Linked DNA regions of Homo sapiens: all the other regions are linked to region 5. The links are contacts of gene promoters, found by promoter capture Hi-C in blood cells and fetal thymus (Javierre and others, 2016). All regions are on one chromosome and are shown on one strand. Each heading gives the region's core, a stretch centred on a gene start or on the middle of the fragment in contact. The rest is flanking DNA. Distances are from core to core; before and after follow the strand shown.

What was found. The method cuts DNA at HindIII sites, captures the fragments that hold promoters and counts their contacts. A CHiCAGO score of 5 or more calls a contact.
Region 1: a fragment that was not itself captured here is called in contact with the fragment with the promoter of ADAMTS1 in region 5 in 1 of 17 cell types (endothelial precursors); the score reaches 5.1 in endothelial precursors.
Region 2: a contact is called between a fragment that was not itself captured here and the fragment with the promoter of ADAMTS1 in region 5, in 1 of 17 cell types (M1 macrophages). The highest score is 5.4, in M1 macrophages.
Region 3: a contact is called between a fragment that was not itself captured here and the fragment with the promoter of ADAMTS1 in region 5, in 2 of 17 cell types (monocytes and M0 macrophages). The highest score is 6.0, in monocytes.
Region 4: a contact is called between a fragment that was not itself captured here and the fragment with the promoter of ADAMTS1 in region 5, in 1 of 17 cell types (endothelial precursors). The highest score is 5.6, in endothelial precursors.
Region 6: a contact is called between a fragment that was not itself captured here and the fragment with the promoter of ADAMTS1 in region 5, in 5 of 17 cell types (monocytes, M2 macrophages, erythroblasts and 2 more). The highest score is 10.7, in monocytes.
Region 7: a contact is called between a fragment that was not itself captured here and the fragment with the promoter of ADAMTS1 in region 5, in 1 of 17 cell types (M1 macrophages). The highest score is 5.9, in M1 macrophages.

The regions. Positions count from the first base shown.
Region 1 is chr21:27,751,133-27,753,976 of GRCh38, reverse strand. LINC00113 (long intergenic non-protein coding RNA 113) reads right to left here. Exons shown (of 4, transcript NR_024357.2): 4 at 2,744-2,844. Among named protein-coding and RNA genes, the nearest start is that of LINC00113, 30 kb to the right of the region's middle. The HindIII fragment of the contact is 2,239 bases long and covers 341-2,579 here.
Region 2 is chr21:27,784,913-27,787,612 of GRCh38, reverse strand. No RefSeq gene overlaps it. Among named protein-coding and RNA genes, the nearest start is that of LINC00113, 64 kb to the right of the region's middle. The HindIII fragment of the contact is 929 bases long and covers 805-1,733 here.
Region 3 is chr21:27,725,946-27,728,737 of GRCh38, reverse strand. The region is part of intron 1 of LINC00113 (long intergenic non-protein coding RNA 113); the gene reads right to left. Among named protein-coding and RNA genes, the nearest start is that of LINC00113, 5.0 kb to the right of the region's middle. The HindIII fragment of the contact is 629 bases long and covers 1,113-1,741 here.
Region 4 is chr21:27,767,636-27,770,335 of GRCh38, reverse strand. No RefSeq gene overlaps it. Among named protein-coding and RNA genes, the nearest start is that of LINC00113, 47 kb to the right of the region's middle. The HindIII fragment of the contact is 6,979 bases long and covers 1-2,700 here.
Region 5 is chr21:26,843,957-26,846,807 of GRCh38, reverse strand. ADAMTS1 (ADAM metallopeptidase with thrombospondin type 1 motif 1) reads left to right here and starts at 1,399. Exons shown (of 9, transcript NM_006988.5): 1 at 1,399-2,583. The coding sequence starts at 1,854. RefSeq lists enhancers at 15-614, 615-1,215. The HindIII fragment of the contact is 3,865 bases long and covers 806-2,851 here.
Region 6 is chr21:27,685,162-27,687,915 of GRCh38, reverse strand. No RefSeq gene overlaps it. Among named protein-coding and RNA genes, the nearest start is that of LINC00113, 36 kb to the left of the region's middle. The HindIII fragment of the contact is 3,168 bases long and covers 1-2,754 here.
Region 7 is chr21:27,811,704-27,814,403 of GRCh38, reverse strand. No RefSeq gene overlaps it. Among named protein-coding and RNA genes, the nearest start is that of LINC00113, 91 kb to the right of the region's middle. The HindIII fragment of the contact is 209 bases long and covers 1,203-1,411 here.

The sequences.
Region 1 (2,844 bases), core at 211-2,710, 910 kb before region 5:
AGGTGGGTTGAAATGGTCAGGACATGTAAGCACTATTTCAATTTAGAAGAAAAAGGATACTACTATTTGGATTTGGCTTTGAAAATCAAATACACGTGATGTGAACAGAAAGAAGAGACATCCAAAACATACGTAAGCCATATAAAGAGGGAAAATAGAAACATCATGCAGAACCACAGAGGAAGAGAAAAGAAGGCAGATGCAGAAGGAGAATGTAAGAATGATGCATGAAAAATGAAGAAATGAGAAGAGCAGCAGGGAGGAAGGGGGGAAGAAATATCAGAGTATTAAAGGAGTTTTCTCAGTTGCTACATCATCATTATTTTGTATGTTATAAGCTTCTCTTATTATTGCCCCTTGAAGAGATCTTTACTCAATGAAATACTACTCTACAACTTCCATTATATCTCAAAATTCTATAGTTCCTCCTTGAATAGGGGTAACCATTGTAGTTTTCTCAAGGAAATATGTTTATTGACTATAAGAATATTGGCCAGAGTAATGGTGAGCCTTTGTGGTTTTCATATTCCCATCATCCACATAGTAAATAAATATTTACTTTGATTTTCAAAATTGATGCTAATTAATATATGTGAATATATTAAGAAGAAGCCAGAAGGTAAGTGATCAGCTTCTCCTTAGAGGAAAAAAAATATTTTGCATCTTCTTGCAACTTAGAGTTGAAGATTTTATTCATTATCTCGATGCTATACGATTCATACAATCTTTGGTCACTTTAATTTATGGTTAAAGTTAAGAAAGTAATTCTTATGGGAAGACAGTTGTATCCTGAATTATATTTATTTCAGAAATCAAGGATGCAATGTAAAATGTTTCAGATTTCATTTTTAAGGATCATATTCTGAAGTCGAGGCAAATATCTGCTGTTTCTTACAAATGATTTTCTAAGTTGAACACAGTTATGTAGTACATTGCAAAGCAAACTTTTTCTTGATAAATTTAATTTTCATGTGCCTTTTCACTGACTAGGCTCAATGTTGATTCTGATCCTAGTTGCAACATAGTTTGCTTATTAGTTAGGTCTAGCTATAATGAATTGCTTTTAAAATAAAAGATACAACAAATAAATGCTTTTATAATGGTTGATTTTCATTCTATAAGCATTGATATAAACTTAGTGAATTCTTATTCCTCCAACATTTTTAGATTGATTTAAATGCATTTGTCAATTATTTTCCTATCATCCTTATATAAAAGAACTCTGATTATGGGATAATATATTCTAAGCATTGTGATGGAGGCAGTCACCCAGTGCCTAGTGTTGTATGTATGGATTTGGTAACATAAAAATTCATTCTTCTTTCTGAAACATTTTATAAAATTCTCTGAAGTACAGCTACAGTAGCCAGGCTTATTAAACCAAAATACATAGTTTTTAAATATTTTATCAGGCAAACCTAAGTACAGAAACTTTAATCAATTTAACCTTTGTAATTAGTCAGTGTGACCTAGCAAATTCCTTTATATTTCAAGGTTAAAAGTTATTCATTCAAATGAGAAGATAAGTATATTATCACTTGTTAAATATTATATGCCAGGTATTGTTGTATGTGGAACTTTTAGACCATAATACTTCCATCCTGATCACAATCCTAAGTGATGAGTACTGGTATAAGAAAATCTACTTAAACGTTTATGTTAATTATTCAAAGTTACACAGCAAGAAAGCAGTGTGCTCACCTTTGCACTCAACTCTATTGGATTCCAATGTCTTCACTGATGCATAAGAAATTAGCCATTGCCTTTCAAATTCCACTTGTTCTCTTTTTCTTTCACAAACTGACTTTGTGAAAGTAAATCAGTGCAAACATTTTCTCCCATTCTGTAGGTGGTCTGTTTACTCTGCAGACAGTTTCTTTTGCTGTGCAGAGTTCTTCAGTTTAGTTAGGTCCCATTTGTCAATTTTTTGTTTTCTTGCAGTTGCCTTTGGCATTTTTCTCATGAAATCTTTGCTCATGGCCTATGTCCCGAATGGTATTGCCTCAGCTGTCTTTCAAGGTTTTCTTAGTTTTGAGTTTTACATTTAGGTTTTTAATCTCTTTTGATTTAATATTTGTATGTGGTGTAAGGAAGGGGTCCAGTTTCAATTTTCTACATATTGAGAAGTGAAGCCAGCTGGACTTCCTGGGTCAAGTGGGGACTTGGAGAACTTTTCTATCTAGCTAGAGGATTGTAAACGCAATCAGCGCTCTGTGTCTAGCTCAAGGATTGTAAATGCACCAATCAGCACTCTGTAAAAATGCACCAATCAGCACTCTGTGTCTAGCTAAAGGATTGTCAATGCACCAATCAGCACTCTGTAAAAACGCACCAATCAGCGCTCTGTGTCTAGCTAAAGGAAAATAAACGCACTGATCAGCCCTCTGTAAAAACGCACCAATCAGTGCTCAGTGTCTAGATAAAGGATTGTAAACACACCAATCAGCACTCTGTAAAATGGACCAATCAGGGCTCTGTAAAATGGACCAGTCAGCAGGATGTGGGTGGGGCCAAATAAGGGAATAAAAGCTGGCCACCTGAGCCAGCAGCGGAAAGTGCCCTTCCATGCTGTGGAAGCTTTGTTCTTTCGCTCTTCACAGTAAATCTTGCTGCTGCTCACTCTTTGGGTCTGCAACACCTTTATGAGCTGTAACACTCACTGCAAAGGTCTGCGGCTCCATTCTTGAAGCCAGCGAGACCAAGAACCCACTGGAAGGAATAAATTCTAGACACAATATGGCCAGCCATTTCTCCCAGCACCATTTATTGAACAGGGAGTCCTTTCCCCATTGCTTTTTGTCAGGTTTGTCGAAGATTGGATGGTTGAAGATGAGTGATCTAATT
Region 2 (2,700 bases), core at 20-2,519, 940 kb before region 5:
CACCAGTGAAGGCTGTGAAATGGCAAATATGGCAGCCTACTCCTTCCTCTGGAAGCTCTCTGTCCCAGAGGGGTACTGATCTGTTGCTGACCTGAATGTGCCTGGATTAGATGGCTGGAGATCCCTTTTGGGAGGTCTCAGGAGGAATGGGATCAGGGCTGTAGCTATACCATACATTGGGTATTTATTTTCTCTGGCACTATAAGTGTTCTGCATATATTTATTATGTAAAAGACTAATATGAAATAGATACAATTATTCACATTTAAACATAACAAAATTTTCTGCAAAAAAATATAAAGGGACTTTCCTATTGCACAATTAAAAGAGAGTAAGTTGGGACAAACAGTATGACTCACCTGACTCCAAAGTCCATGTGAACATATACCATGTAGTTCTTCCTATTACAGCTTATATTCTGTATCTCATTTTGCCCAAGGGGACTAAACATTGAGTGTAGGAATTTATCATATGAAGAGCATGGTCCTTGCTTAATTAAGTGTATAGAATGCCCAATCTATAGCAAGATATCCATTTACTGGCCCATGGTATATATCTGATAATTTATTGGTCAAACAATTTATTAATAGTTAAATGGAATCTGATCAATATACTTGGCTATGGCCACTGTATTAGTTCATTTCCCTTTGCTATGAAGAAATACCTGAGGCTGGGTAATTTATAACGAAAAAGAGGTTTATTTGGCTTATGGTTTTGCAGGCTGTACAAGAAGCATGGCACCAACATCTGATTCTGGTCAGGACCTCAGGAAGCATTTACTCATAGTGGAAGCCAAGCGAAGCTTGCTTGTAACATACTGAGAGACAGCAAAAAAGGGGAAGAAGGTGCCTCTCTCTTAACCACAAGATCTCATGGAAATTGATAGAGGGAGAATTTACTCATTACTAAGGGACAATACCAAGCCATTCATGGCATATCCACCCCCATGACAAAAACACCTCCCACTAGGTCCCACCTCCAACACTGGGGATCACATCTCAACAGGAAAGCTGGAGATGACAAACATACAAACTATATCAGCCACCTCGATAGTAGAGTCAGCACTAGAACCCTGAGTCATGACTTTTAGTTTGGGACTGTATGAGTTTGGATAAATTTAAGGTATTCCTTGTAAAGTACTGGCTTGAAAAAGGACATGACTTTCTGTTATGTAAATGCCTAGATAGATTTTTCCTAATTTTCTAGGTAGTTTTCCATTGTCAATAATCAGGATTTTCTACCACACACACACACACACACGCACACAAAAGTCATATTGTTAGTATTTTTTTACCCACTTCTCAATTAATTGTCTTAATTGCCTAACTGATTACTAAGTGGATCAGGTAAGGAAAGCAAAACTTTTGAGAAAACTGATGAAATTTCATCTCCTAATGAGGAGCACATGAGCCATTTAGCTTACAACAACTTGAGTTAAATTAAAATACCATTTCAAATAAAATTGTGATTATAATACACAGGATATATTAAACTTAATTATAAAGCAACCAATTTTCCCACCAATAAATGTATGATTTATTTGGGTACAGTTCAAACTTTTATTTAATAGAGGGCTTTTCCTCTTATGTCTTCAATTTCCTTGTTTCTGGGTATTCATTTATTTGTTCATTCATTTATCCAAAAAGTATTTATTGAACACTTCCTATATTCCAGGCTTTGTTGTATGTCCTGGTACTAGAACTATAAACAACACAAATTTACCTTATGAAGCTTACCTCTTATAAAAAGGTAAGATACAGTAAATGTTAGAAGGTGGTATATGTGAGAAAGAAAAATAAAGCAGGAAAAGGGAATAGAGTACTTAGTGTCAGGAGGAGAGGAGAGGTTATAATTTTTAAAATAAGGGTTAGGGAAACCCTGGCTGAGAAGGTAATACTTGAGAAAAGTTCTGAAGCAGGTGTGACATCTAACAATGTGAAGATTGGGGGGAGAAAAAAACAGTAGGTTCAGAAGCCTTAGACTGAAGAATACCTGGAAATGTGTGTTTATAGTGGACAGAGCAAGTAGGAGAAAAGCAGATGAGATCTGAGAATAAACAGTGACTTAGGCCAAGTACACAGGTCGTAGCAAGGATTTGGGCTCTTAATTTGAGTGAACAGGGAAGCCATTCTGAGCCAAACAGTTACCTGAGCTGACTTATATTTATAAAAGTTTACATTGCCTGTTCTGTTGAGATAGACTGTAGTTTGCGTAGATTGCAGAAGGAAAAATGCTTAAGGTAATGTTATTCAGCTGACAGATGATAGTGGTTTGTACCAGAATGTTAGCAGGAAAAATGGTGTAATATTATTAGATTCTGGACCCTTTTGAACATAGATCCCAAGATTTAACGGTGCCAAAGAAGCACTCACAGAGTCCTAAAAGAATTGTAACAGAAGCTAAGGGAAGACAGTGGTCCCACAGAAAAAAAGAAAGACGAGAAGAGAAGAAGACAAGAGGAAAAGAAAACAATCTCAGTGTAATCAACGTGGTAGAGTGATGCTGAGATGATACTAATTTGTGTATTTCATTTTTCTCACTGGACAGTTAGAGTTCTGATTTGAAGCTGATTTTAAAGATTGTGTTTGTGTGTGTGTGTGTGTGTGTGTGTGTGTGTGTGTTGCATTTCAGTGACTAGGAGAAAGAGTAAAAATAAACATAGAATATGAACAGTTAGTGATGAGCCACTGTTATGGTTTG
Region 3 (2,792 bases), core at 178-2,677, 880 kb before region 5:
AGTAAACAGAGAAAAGGTATGGTAAAAATAAAGTATAAAAGATAAAAACTGGTACACTTGTATAGGGCACTTACCTTGAACGGAGCTTGCACGATTGGAAGTTGCTCTGGGTGAGTCAATGAAGCACTAGTGAGTGAATGTGAAGGCCGAACACATCACTGCACTCTACTGTAGACTAGATACACATTGTACACTTCAGCTACACTAAACTTATCAAAAATATTTTTCTTCAATCATAAATTCAACTTAGTTACTACAACATTTTGACATCATAAAGTAGGTATATTTACATCAGCACCACTACAGGCACGTGAGTAATGCATCACACTGCATTACAACGGCTATAAATTTTTGAGCTCCATTATAATGCTATGGGACCACCGTTATGTATGCAAAACAGAAACAACTTTATGCAGTACATGGCTGTATTTTGAAGCTCTGTTAATTAAGTATGCAAACATGTATGATTGTTATGTCTTAATGAAATGCTGCGCTTTATTTCAGGTAATGTTTATTGTACTGGAGCATACTTTGATATTACAGTATTCATACAATTTACATTTTTACATTTTAGATAGTATATCTTTTTCCATGTTTTATGTTTTAGTCTATTTGTGCCCTATATTAAATATACATATCTTTAAAGAGGATATTTGCTGCAAATATCCTGAACCTAAAACAAAGTTAAAAAAACAAAAGAGGTCTTTTGGTCTTGCTTGTTTTAGTCTACCTGTTTCTTTATGTTAAATATACATATCTTTTAAAGAGGATGTTTGGATCTTGATTATTTTATTAAATCTGACAATATAACAACAGCTAATGTAATAATTAGTATAGTTGGGTTACATTTGTAATTTTTCTAATCTCCATTAGCTAATTTTCTGTAATTGTGTTTTCATTTCTTCCGATTTTGTTTTGCTGTTCTTCCTTTTCTGCCTTCTTCTGGGTTATGTTAATCTTTCAGTGTTACATTTTACTTCTACCATTGACTTTTTGGCTATGCCATTTTGTGAATTGTAGTGCTTACTATAGGGATTACAGTAGGCATCTTTCACTTACTGTAAGCTACTTAGAGTTAATATGGCAGCATTTAATTTGAAGTGTGAGAAGCTTGAAATGATATTGTACGTAAGATGTATATATAAGACCATATATCTATTCTTTGTATTGCTCTTACAAGTGGGTAGTTAGATATGAGCAGGGTAGGAGAGCCCCTTCCCCCTGTCCCAAACAGGAATGTCAGGGGACCATCAAGTGAAGGTCAGGGAGCTGTTATACTGTTTCTCTAAAATAATAATTGGTTATAGCCAGTGCCGGGGAAAGGCAGTCTTCCAATAAGCAGAAACACCTGAGACTGGTGATCAGCAGCTTCCCAATAAGATCTCAGGAGCTGGGTGACTGGGCTCAAATATGCACACTAAGAGGCAAAATTGTGGAGTTTAACTGGTATATGTCCTTCTAGGGATATTTGGCTGGTTAGGGAAGGACACCTCAAGTGAGCATGCATGCATATACAATAAACATGCTGTGCCTGCTCACCTCCCAAGTGCTGGCAGGCCCCTGCACATGCGGGCAGCCCACCCCTAGGGAAGAATCAGGGAGAAGAGACTCAAGAACCAGGAAGCATGTCAACATATCAAACTCCAAGTCAAAAGGACAAACCACACACTTGATCCCGCCAGTCGCCCACTTGGCCCTCTTCCAAGTGTACTTTACTTTCTTTCATTCCTGTTCTAAAGCTTTCTAATAAACTTTCACTCCTGCTCTAAAACTTGTCTGTATCTCTCCTTCTGCCTTATACCTCCTTGTTTGAATTATTTCTTCTGAAGAGGCAAGAATTGAGGTTGCTGTAGACCCATAAGGATTTACTGCTGGTGACATACTTTGGTGCCGTGACACAGATATGTTTTGCTGGGAACATATTTTTGTGCCATGTGACTCAGATACCTTCCACTGCTAACATACTTTGGTGCCATGGGTCTCTAATACGTTTGGCCATTAACATATTTTGTTTCCATGACTTCGACATGGTCTTCAATGGTAAGAGATCTTTATTCCTCACTTGCTTCGGTGGGAGGTGTTCAACACCCATACACAGTTTTCTTCTCCCCTTCTTTCTCCTGCTTACTAACAAACCCCCAGAACAATTCCTCTTGGCCATAAGTGACTCTGCTCACACACACCCACCAGGCTGATCTCTCAGCTGACCCTGACTGGCAGCTTGCAGAGGTGGGAATAACCTTGGGGTTTACACTGAGTAGATCTGAGATGCTAATGGCCCTCCTGGACAGGAGGCTTGTGAGAAAGGTAGGGCTAAAGCCTAAAACCGTGCAATGTCTAGGGTTTCCTCTACCTTTTCAACTAAAATCAGCTCTTTCCAAAAACGCAAACAGCATATTCTCCTGTTTTCTCTGCATGTATTCTGAAATGGCCTTGCACACCCACAGGACTATCTGCTTTGGAGGCAAGTCTGCCTCTTTGCTTTCACTTCACATGCCACATGAATTTTTAAACACACCCTGTTATTTGTGCACCCATGGCTCTTGCTGCATTTGTCTGGCAGCAAAGACACAGGCTGCCTTGCAGAAATACCCTGAGATTTATACTTGTGTTTACCCTACTAGCTCAGATGACCACAAACCCTTCCCTTGTCTGCTGACACATTTCCAGGACAGACACTACTTGGAACCCCAGCTCTGCCAGCTCCTTATGACTTACCATATACTTTTTGTTCCTGTTATACCTCAGAGTCGAGTTTTCAGTGGCTTTTGAAGCAGTTTGTCTAACTGCAT
Region 4 (2,700 bases), core at 153-2,652, 920 kb before region 5:
CAAGATTCAAAGAAAAGAAAAAGAGAGAGAGAGAGAAAGAGAGAAAAAACATTGCTTGGTATAGGTATAGTGTAATTATAACTTTTATCTCATTATAAGAAATCAAAAGAAACTTTGTGTTAATTCACTGGAAATTTTGCTTTTCTTCCTGTGCATGAAATGGAAAGTTCTCAGGCTGCCTGAAGCTCACACAGCCAGACTTTTCACTCCCGAGAACCTTTCCCGGTTTTGTACCTGGCCTGAGTCTTGTCTCTGTACTGTCCTTCTACTTTTTCTCAACCTTTAGAAAGTTCTACCAAAACCAAGTTAAAGTGTCACTTCCTCTGTGTAGCCTTTTCTGGCTCCCAAGGTACTTCCCTCTTTTGTTTTCCATCAACTGTTGCCCCACATTTTATTAAGTCTACAGCAATGCATTATGCATATCTCTTTACACATTTGTCTTGCCAACTATTCTGTGGCCTAGTCAAGAGCAGACTATGGCTTAGGTTTTTTTTTTTTTTTTTTTTTTTTTACAACTCCATATACAGACTATTAAAATGCCTAGGGAATAAAGAAGTCACTATAAATGTTTTTCTCATGTATTATTGGTACGATACATAATAGAAAATGTAAACATCCCCCTAGGTAGAAGCCATCTATTTTGTTAGTGGTGAGAAGATTATATTAATAATTCTTTTTTAAAATTTATTTATTATATTTTAAGTTCTGGGATACATGTGCAGAATGTACAGGATTGTTATGTAGGCATTAAAGAATTATATTAATATATGAATTAATATATGAATTAAAGAATTATGAAGTCTTTGCCCATGCCTATGTCCTGAATGGTATTGCCTAGGTTTCCTTCTAGGGTTTTTATGGTTTTACATCTTACGTTTAAGTCTTTAATCCATCTTGAGTTAATTTTTATATAAGGTATGAAGAAGGGGTCCAGTTTCAGATTTCTACATATGGCTAGCCAGTTTTCCCAATACCATTTATTAAATAGGGAATCTTTTCCCCATTGCTTGTTTTTGTCAGGTTTGTCAAAGATCAGATGGTTGCAATGTGTGGCGTTATTTCTGAGGCCTCTATTCTGTTCCATTGGTCCGTATATCTGTTTTGGTACCAGTACCATGCTGTTTTTGTTACTGTAGCCTTGTAGTACAGTTTGAAGTCAGGTAGCACGATGCCTCCAGCTTTGTTCTTTTTGTTTAGGATTGTCTTGGCTATACAGACTCTTTTTTGGTTCCATATAAAATTTAAAGTAGTTTTTTCTAATTCTGTGAAGAAAGTCAATGGTAGTTTGATGGGGATAACATTGAATCTATAAATTACTTTGGGCAGTATGGCCATTTTCACAATATTGATTCTTCCTATCCATGAGCATGGAATGTTTTTCTGTTTGTTTGTGTCCTCTCTTATTTCCTTGTGCAATGGTTTGTAGTTCTCCTTGAAGAGGTCCTTCACATCCCTCGTAAGTTGTATTCTCTTTGTAGCAATTGTGAATGGGAGTTCACTCATGATTTGGCTCTCTGTTTGTCTATTATTGGTGTACAGGAATGCTTGTGATTTTTGCACATTGATTTTGTATCCTGAGACTTTGCTGAAGTTGCATGACTAAAAAACCAAAGCAATGGCAACAGAAGCCAAAAATTGACAAATGGGATCTAATTAAACTAAAGAGCTTCTGCACAGCAAAAGAAACTATCGTCAGAATGAACAGGCAACCTATAGAATGGGAGAAAATTATTGAAATCTATCCGTCTGTCGAAGGGCTAACATCCAGAATCTACAAAGAACTTAAACAGATTTACAAGAAAAAAAACAAACGACCCCATCAGAAAGTGGGTGAAGGATATTAACAGACACTTCTCAAAAGAAGACATTTATGTGGCCAACAAACATATGGAAAATTTCATCATCACTGGTCATTACAGAAATGCAAACCAAAACCACAATGAGATACCATCTCACGCCAGTTAGAATGGCGATCATTAAAAAGTCAGCAAACAACAGATGCTAGAGAGGATGTGGAGAAATAGGAATGCTTTTACACTGTTGGTGGGAGTGCAAATTAGTCCAATCATTGTGAAATACAGTCTGGTGATTCCTCTGGGATCTAGAACCAGAAATACCATTTGACCCAACAATCCCATTACTGGTTGTATACCCAAAGGATTATCAATTATTCTACTATAAAGACACATGCACATGTATGTTTATTGCAGCACTGTCACAATAGCAAAGACTTGGAACTAACCCAAATGCCTATCAATGATAGACTGAATGAAGAAAATGTGGCACATATACACCATGGAATACTATGAAGACATAAAAAGATGAGTTCATGTCCTTTGCAGGAACACGGATGATGCTGGGAACCATCATTCTCAGCAAACTAACGCAAGAACAGAAAACCAAACACCACATGTTCTCACTCATAAGTGGGAGTTGAACAATGAGAACACATGGACACAGGGAGGGGAGTATTACATAGTGGGGCCTGTCAGGGGGTAGAGGGCTAGGGGAGGGACAACATTAAGAGAAATACCTAATGTAGATGATAAGTTGATGGGTGCAGCAAACCACCATTGTATGTGTATGCCTATATAACAATCCTGCACATTCTGCACATGTATCCCAGAACTTAAAATGTAAGAAATAAATTTAAAAAAAGAATTATTAATATAATCTTCTCACCACTAACAAAATAGATGG
Region 5 (2,851 bases), core at 150-2,649:
GAAGGGACGCTTCTGGCTGGGGCCAACTGAAGTGGGGAAGATCTGGGGAGGAGCGAGGAAAGGACCCAGATCTACTTGGAGCCAACCAAGAGACCGGACGGGAGTGGGGCGGAAAGGCGGAGACCAGTTCGAGCACTAACGCGGGGGCGCGCGAGTGTGAGGGTTGCGGGTCCGCCCGGGGCTAGGGCGGTCGCTCTCGCCATTGTCCCCGCGGCTTTCCGCCTGTGAAACACGTCCTTCCTCTGGGTCCTTGAGCCCCTCCCACTTTTTGGAGAGAAGAGCCACTCAGTTTTTTTTCCTAAGGACCTGTTGGTGGACCTCTCCTCGCTTTCGTAACGCGGATATAGCCTTTTCCCTTCCTGGTAGGAAGAGGAAGGAGGGGTCCGGGAAGGAAGCCGATTTCCTTCTTTCCCCCTCTGCACGCTTGCTAGCCCCAGCGATCGCTGCTGGCCCCCGGGTAGGAAAGTGGGGTTCCTGGCCGTTTCTGCGACGCTGGCCTAGGGCTTGCAGCTGCTGTTGAGTGAAAGCACGCAGACTGGCGGGAGCCGATCATTTCTCGAATGAAGAAGAAAAAGCGCAATTCCCTCCTTATGCTCTAGGGAATTGAGCCGCGTCCCAGATCACCCATTCCAGAAATGTGAAACCGGGCCCTCACAAAGTCGTCTCTGGTGAAGAGGTGGCGTGCGGGGTGGGGGTTGGTGGAGGGTGAAGGCATAAGCAAACATATTTTAAAATCCAGATCGTAGGAAGTGTCACCTGGCCCCTCACCCAGGCATGCTTTCTGGGGGAAGCGCAGGGCCAAGCTTTCCCTAGAAAAGCTGGGGCGAAGAGAGAGCAGGCGGCGGCTAAGGAGCTCCTGGCAGGCTGGGAAGGTGGAGAAGTGGGGTGAGGTATTTTTCTAGAAAGTGTAGCCCTAGCTCATCTCCTAGATTGGGGAAGAGGGAACTGAGGGAGGAGGGAAGGAGACCCAGGGCAGCTCCAGGATAGGGAAATGTTGAAGAAGGGACTGCGTTCTCCAACCGAACCCTCCCTCCTGGGAACCGCAGCCCAGCGCGGTAACTGAGTTACCGCAACCGGGCGGTGGGGAGGAAGGGTGGTCCAGGAAACCGGCGAGGGAGAAAAGCGGTGGAAGGGAGAGTCTTCTCCCTGGAGCGGCCCCAGCAGTACAAAGTGCTGGTCACAGCGCCCCTTCCGCCCCTAGATTGACGAGCAGTGGCGTGGAGCCAGCGCGGAGGCTGCCCCCTCCCCCTCCCGAGCCCGCAGCGCGGAGCGCGGTTTAGCACCAACGGAGCCGGGGGCGGCGTCTTTGGGATGGAAAAGGGCCAAAGGGGAGGAGTGGGGTGGGGGTGGGGGTTTCACTGGTCCACTATAAAAGGACCGCTCGGCTGCCCGGTTCTTGCACTCGCTGGAAAGCGGCTCCGAGCCAGGGGCTATTGCAAAGCCAGGGTGCGCTACCGGACGGAGAGGGGAGAGCCCTGAGCAGAGTGAGCAACATCGCAGCCAAGGCGGAGGCCGAAGAGGGGCGCCAGGCACCAATCTCCGCGTTGCCTCAGCCCCGGAGGCGCCCCAGAGCGCTTCTTGTCCCAGCAGAGCCACTCTGCCTGCGCCTGCCTCTCAGTGTCTCCAACTTTGCGCTGGAAGAAAAACTTCCCGCGCGCCGGCAGAACTGCAGCGCCTCCTTTTAGTGACTCCGGGAGCTTCGGCTGTAGCCGGCTCTGCGCGCCCTTCCAACGAATAATAGAAATTGTTAATTTTAACAATCCAGAGCAGGCCAACGAGGCTTTGCTCTCCCGACCCGAACTAAAGGTCCCTCGCTCCGTGCGCTGCTACGAGCGGTGTCTCCTGGGGCTCCAATGCAGCGAGCTGTGCCCGAGGGGTTCGGAAGGCGCAAGCTGGGCAGCGACATGGGGAACGCGGAGCGGGCTCCGGGGTCTCGGAGCTTTGGGCCAGTACCCACGCTGCTGCTGCTCGCCGCGGCGCTACTGGCCGTGTCGGACGCACTCGGGCGCCCCTCCGAGGAGGACGAGGAGCTAGTGGTGCCGGAGCTGGAGCGCGCCCCGGGACACGGGACCACGCGCCTCCGCCTGCACGCCTTTGACCAGCAGCTGGATCTGGAGCTGCGGCCCGACAGCAGCTTTTTGGCGCCCGGCTTCACGCTCCAGAACGTGGGGCGCAAATCCGGGTCCGAGACGCCGCTTCCGGAAACCGACCTGGCGCACTGCTTCTACTCCGGCACCGTGAATGGCGATCCCAGCTCGGCTGCCGCCCTCAGCCTCTGCGAGGGCGTGCGCGGCGCCTTCTACCTGCTGGGGGAGGCGTATTTCATCCAGCCGCTGCCCGCCGCCAGCGAGCGCCTCGCCACCGCCGCCCCAGGGGAGAAGCCGCCGGCACCACTACAGTTCCACCTCCTGCGGCGGAATCGGCAGGGCGACGTCGGCGGCACGTGCGGGGTCGTGGACGACGAGCCCCGGCCGACTGGGAAAGCGGAGACCGAAGACGAGGACGAAGGGACTGAGGGCGAGGACGAAGGGGCTCAGTGGTCGCCGCAGGACCCGGCACTGCAAGGCGTAGGACAGCCCACAGGTAGAAGAATTGCTCTCGTTTGTCTGTCCATTCATCCTCCTCTCCTCACTTTATCTATCCCACGCGACTTCAGGGTAGACTCCTGCTGGCAGGCAGGATCATAAGTCCGCGGACAGAACGGAGGCCTGGAGTGGAGGAATGTGGTTTGAGGTTTGGATTGGTGAACTCAGCTAGAAAACATACTTGCATTTGCCCGAATAATGAATAACCAAGAAAAAAACTGACAAACGATTTTCTGCAAACTAAAGCAAAGCATTTAGGCCGGGGA
Region 6 (2,754 bases), core at 160-2,659, 840 kb before region 5:
GCAAAGAACCAAACACAGAAAAATATATCTACCAAAATTATTTTCCAAAAGCGAGAATAAGTAAAGACTATTCTAGGGAAATAAAAATGGAGGAAATCTTTTTCAGCAGACCTGTCCTCAGGAAACATTTGAAGTTCTTCAGGCAGAAAAAAAATTAATTTATGTCAGAAACTTAGATCTACATAAAAAAAGGTGTTGGAAGGGTAAATGAAAGTAGAATAAAAACCGTATTTTTTTTTTTTTTGAGACAGAGTCTTGCTCTGTCGCCCAGGCTGGAGTGCAGTGGCGTGATCTCGGCTCACTGCAAGCTCCGCCTCCCGGGTTCACGTCATTCTCCTGCCTCAGCCCCCCGAGTAACTGGGACTACAGGCAGCCGCCACCGAGCATGGCTAATTTTTCTTGTATTTTTAGTAGAGACAGGGTTTCACCGTGGTCTCGATCTCCTGATCTCGTGACCCGCCCGCCTCGGCCTCCCAAAAACCGTATTTTTTCTTAATTTTAATTGATCTAAAAGACAGGTATTTTAAGCAATAATAGTAACAATGTTTTGTGTGACTATGCCAAGTAAAATTCAATAAATGACAGAAATGTCATAAAGGTTACATTTCCATGAAGTGTAGTTATGTGTAATGTTAAAAATAAATATCATAGGTTCTTGAAAAGCACACAATTATTAAACAATGAAATATAATTGATATACTAAGAATAAAAAAATCAGAAGAATTGAATTATAGAAAATATTCAATTAAAAGTAGAGAAGGCAGATAAACAAGGAAAAGAGAAACATAGAACAAATACAATGGAATAGAAAAAAATATAAACATATTAGCATACAGACATGTTATCTGTTAATCCTTCTATATCAATAAGCACCTTAAATATGAATAAATGCGCCAATTAAACAACAGAGATTGTGAGAGTGGATTAAAATAACAACTCAAGACCCAATGAACTATATGTTGTTAATGAGAAACCCCATTTTAAAAATAAACATTCAACCAGATTAAGAGTAAAGTATAAACAAAGATATCCTGTGTTAAAAATAATCAGTAGAAAGCTGCAGTAGATAGCTGCATATCGGACAGCTGACTTCAGAACAGGAAAAACTATCAGCAATAAGGAGAGACATTACATAATTGCAAAAATGTCCATTTTTCAAAAAGACAACAATCTTAAATACGTATACCTCTAAAAAGAGTGTCAACATACACGAAACAATGCGGATAGAATTGAAAGGTAAAAAAGGCAAAACAATTATTGCACATGAAGAATTCAACATGACGTGTTATAATTAATAGGATCAAGTAGGCAAAACACAAGTAAAAATATAGTTGACCTGAGTAACGCTATCAGTAAGCTGACCCGATTGACATTTAAAGACTATTCTACCCAACATTAAAATAAACATTCTTTTCCATTTCACATGGAACATTTACCAAGATAGACAATATGTAGGGTAATAAAACACACCTTCTGAAATTTAAAATATAAGAAATTATACAAAGTATGTTTTCAGATTACATGGAATTCAGCAAGGAAGCAATCACAGACCTGAAAATTCTCAAATATTTTGATGTTAAAAAATAGAACTGCTAAATAAATCTTGAGCCAAGAAAAGATCTCAAAAGAAATAAAAAATAGTTAAAACTAAATGAAACTAAAAATATAACATCAAAATTTATAAAATATAATGAAAAATAAGTGATGGTTATTGGAAAATTTCTAGCATGAAATAAATATGCTAAAAAAGAAAGATCTAAAATAAATAACCTATGTTTAAACTTTTAAAAACTGTAAAAAGAGGAAAAGACTAACCCTGATGCAAGAAAATACACGATATAATAAGAATTACAGAAGAAAAATATATAATTGAAACAGGATAACAATAGAGAAAATTAATGAAACAAAATCTGATTCATGGAAAAGATCAAGAAAATTTGTAAATATCTAGCCAGGCTAACCAAGAAAAAAAGAAAGATACAACTTACCAATATCAGAAATGAGGGCATGGTCATCACTACTGATCCATGGAAAGTAATACAAAAATAAAGCAATACTACTGATAGGTGTTCACCCACCAATTTCATAACTTTGATGGAATGGACCTATTCCTTGAAGGACAAAAACTATAAGAAAGAGAAATAAATACTCTAAATTGTCCTATAAATATAAAAAGGGTTAAATATATAATTAATAACCTTTGAAAAAAGAAAGCACCAGGCCTGTTGGTTCACTGGTTAATTCTATCAAACATGTAACAATGCAATCATACCAATTTTCTACAATCTTCCAGAAAATAGGAGGAATAACATTTCCTATTTATTCTATGAAACCACAATTAACCTAATACCAAAAAACAAATAGATAATTGTAAGCAAAGAAAAATACTGATCAATACTTTTCATGAATGTAGAGGTCAAAATTCTCAATAATATACTATCAGACTAAATCCAACAAATGTATAAAAATAATTTTGCATCAAAATCAAATATGATTTATTTCAGGTGTGGAAGGCTAGTTCAACTTTTGAAAATCGATCAATATGATCTACCTTATCAACAAGCTAACAAAGAAAAATTATATGAGCCTCTCATTTGAGGCAGAAATGTAAATTAACAAATTTCAATACCCATTCATTATGAAAGAAAAAAAGTTACAGAACTGTAAATGGAACATATAGAAAGGTACAAAACTATACATATAAAATATATTTTGTAGAACATACACAAATAAATGTATATGCACAGAAAAACT
Region 7 (2,700 bases), core at 58-2,557, 970 kb before region 5:
GTGTGTGTGTGTGTGTATATGTGTGTGTGTGTGTGTGTGTGTATATGTGTGTGTATATATATGCTCCAGTCAGGCAATCCCTCTATTTGTCATGGTTTCTTTTAACATCTGATAGATGATTTCTCATGAAAAACATTTTCAACGTTATTCAGGTATTATTGTTATCTGCTGAGATAACGTTGAGGTCCATACACATATTAAAAAAAAAGTCGGTTTATTCTTTTTTCCAAGTAAAGAAAGATGTCATTTCGCACATGTCATTTATTCAGGCTTATTCAGAGTGGGGGAAGTGTTCTGTTTGCCTTAGAAAAAAAGTAAGGAAAAATCTATGACTCTGGCTTTTTTTTTTTTTCCCCCTCAACACTGCTTTCTCAACCAAAATGAGCATGTGGTAAAGTGCTTGTGGCACAGACACTGGCCTATTCTTCTCGTGGAAAAAGGCGCTGCTGTTTTACAGTGGCCTGGAGGCTGGGCGTGGTTCCCTGCCGGGGGCTGCGTTCTAATGGCTTCTCCAAGCAAGACGCAGGATCTGCAGAGCCGCGTGGACTGACTCTGGTCACCATTTGTTTTTCTCCAACCTAGAGCTGAGGACTTTTGCTCTTTCCAGCCTTCCTCTCTTTTTCCTTTTCCCCTCTCTCTTTTCCTCATAACCAGAGGCTTTGCACAAAATTTCTTTGAGATTTCCCCTTGCAGTCAGAAAGCACAGTTGTCTTATATTTTTATTCAGTTAACATAATGGAGATGAGCCAGGTTTTTATATTTAAACTCACAGATTTTTAGGCTACATACAGGATCCTCATTCATCTGCTGTTGCTGTATTATTTATTGTTAATATTAGCCATATGATTTAGTGTGAAAAGTGTTTACAGCAGTGTTAGGCTCTGAAACAAATCTTGGCTCTCCTACTTAAGGAACTTGTAAACTTTTCTGTGCCACTATTCCTAGATCTGCAAAATGCAAGAGTGAGATAAATGTAAGATTATGTGGGAGAGTCACCAGCTTATACTCAGCTCTCAACACTTTTTTTTTGTTGTCTGTGTTATTACGAAAGTAATTATAAAATATATGTGATACAAGTGAAGATATCTTGTGTTTCTTCTAAAATATTAATACATAAAATATTTACTCCATCTAAATGCACTTTATTTCACTATAGTAAAATACTGAATAAGGATGTATTTTGGCACTAGAGAAATCAAGCTTATTTTAAATCAGATAAAATTTAGAGGTAAACGATCATATAAATAATTTCCTAAAATGAAAGAAAAAAAGACAAGATTTGGGGAGGACCCTAATGCCAAGCACTTTATAGCTATAATTTGCAAATAGATTCTTAAGTTTAGAAATTTATTTTAAAATCTCAGAAAGTAAGAATTTATTTCACAGGGCTAAATTCTTGCTATTCAAAGCTTGGCCCCAGACTAGCAGTATGGGAATCACCTGGGAGCTTGTTAGACTCTCAGGCTCAAAGCAGGACCCACATATCCGAATCTGGATTCATATTTAACCATATGCACAATATTACACCTGTAGATTGACATCCTATCTACCATTACTTGAATATACCAAACAATAAGTAAAGCTCTGTCTTGAGGCAACTAGAACCACTAGTGATGATCTAATTGCTGAAAATATCATTCATGTCTGTAAGATAATGTTTCTTGTCTAAAGGATAAAAATACCTGCTCTTCTGTAAATTTTTCTAATTTAGTTATGTTGTCCTCTGACTTCTCAACAAACGGCCACATTACCTTTCAGAAAGCTGCCAGTAAGGAATAAAGAAATCATATCTTTAATTAGTTATTTTTGTTTTATACAAGGGATGGGCATGGTACTGCCTGGGGGCCATGTATGACTAGCTGCCTCATTTTATAAATAACATTGTATAGAAACACCACATGCCCTTTGGTTTACACATTGCCTCTGACTGGTTTCCTGTTATGTGGAAGAGTTGAGTAGTTGCAACACAAACAACTATGACCCACAAAACCTAAAGTATTTGCTCTCTGTCCCTTTACATTAAAAAAAAAAAGGGGGGGTATGGTTTGGCTGTGTCCCCACCCAAGTCTCATCTTGAATTGTAGCTCCCGTAGTTCCTATGTGTCGTGGGAAGGATCCGGTGGAAGGTAGTTGAATCATGGGGGCAGGTCTTTCCTGCACTGTTCTCGTGATGGTGAATGGGTCACAGGAAAATGGATAGGTTTAAAAACAGGAGTTTCTCTGCACAAGCTCTCTTTTTGCCTGCCTCCATCCACGTAAGATGTGACTTTGCTCCTCCTTCGCCTTCCGCCATGATTGTGAGGCCTTTTCAACCATGTGGAACTGTGAGTCAATTAAACCTTTTTCCTCTATAAATTACCCAGTCTCAGGTATGTCCTTATTAGTAGCAGGAGAACAAACTAACACAAAAAGTTTACTGAATCCTGGTCGACACTAAGCATTGTTTCTTCTACAACAAATCTTTGTGAAACCTCATGTGTGTCTCAGGCCCTGTGCTAGAGAGCCTGGGATTTCAGAAATGGAAAGAGACTACCTTCAAGAAGATCATCCTGAGCATATTCTTCTTTTTATACTCCTACTTGTAAATATCATCTTAAAATATGTAATGCCTAGAGTTAATCTTCAAATGAGATTCAATGAATAGAGAATATCAATGTCTTTATTAACACAGAATGTTGTACACAAATACCCATTATCATA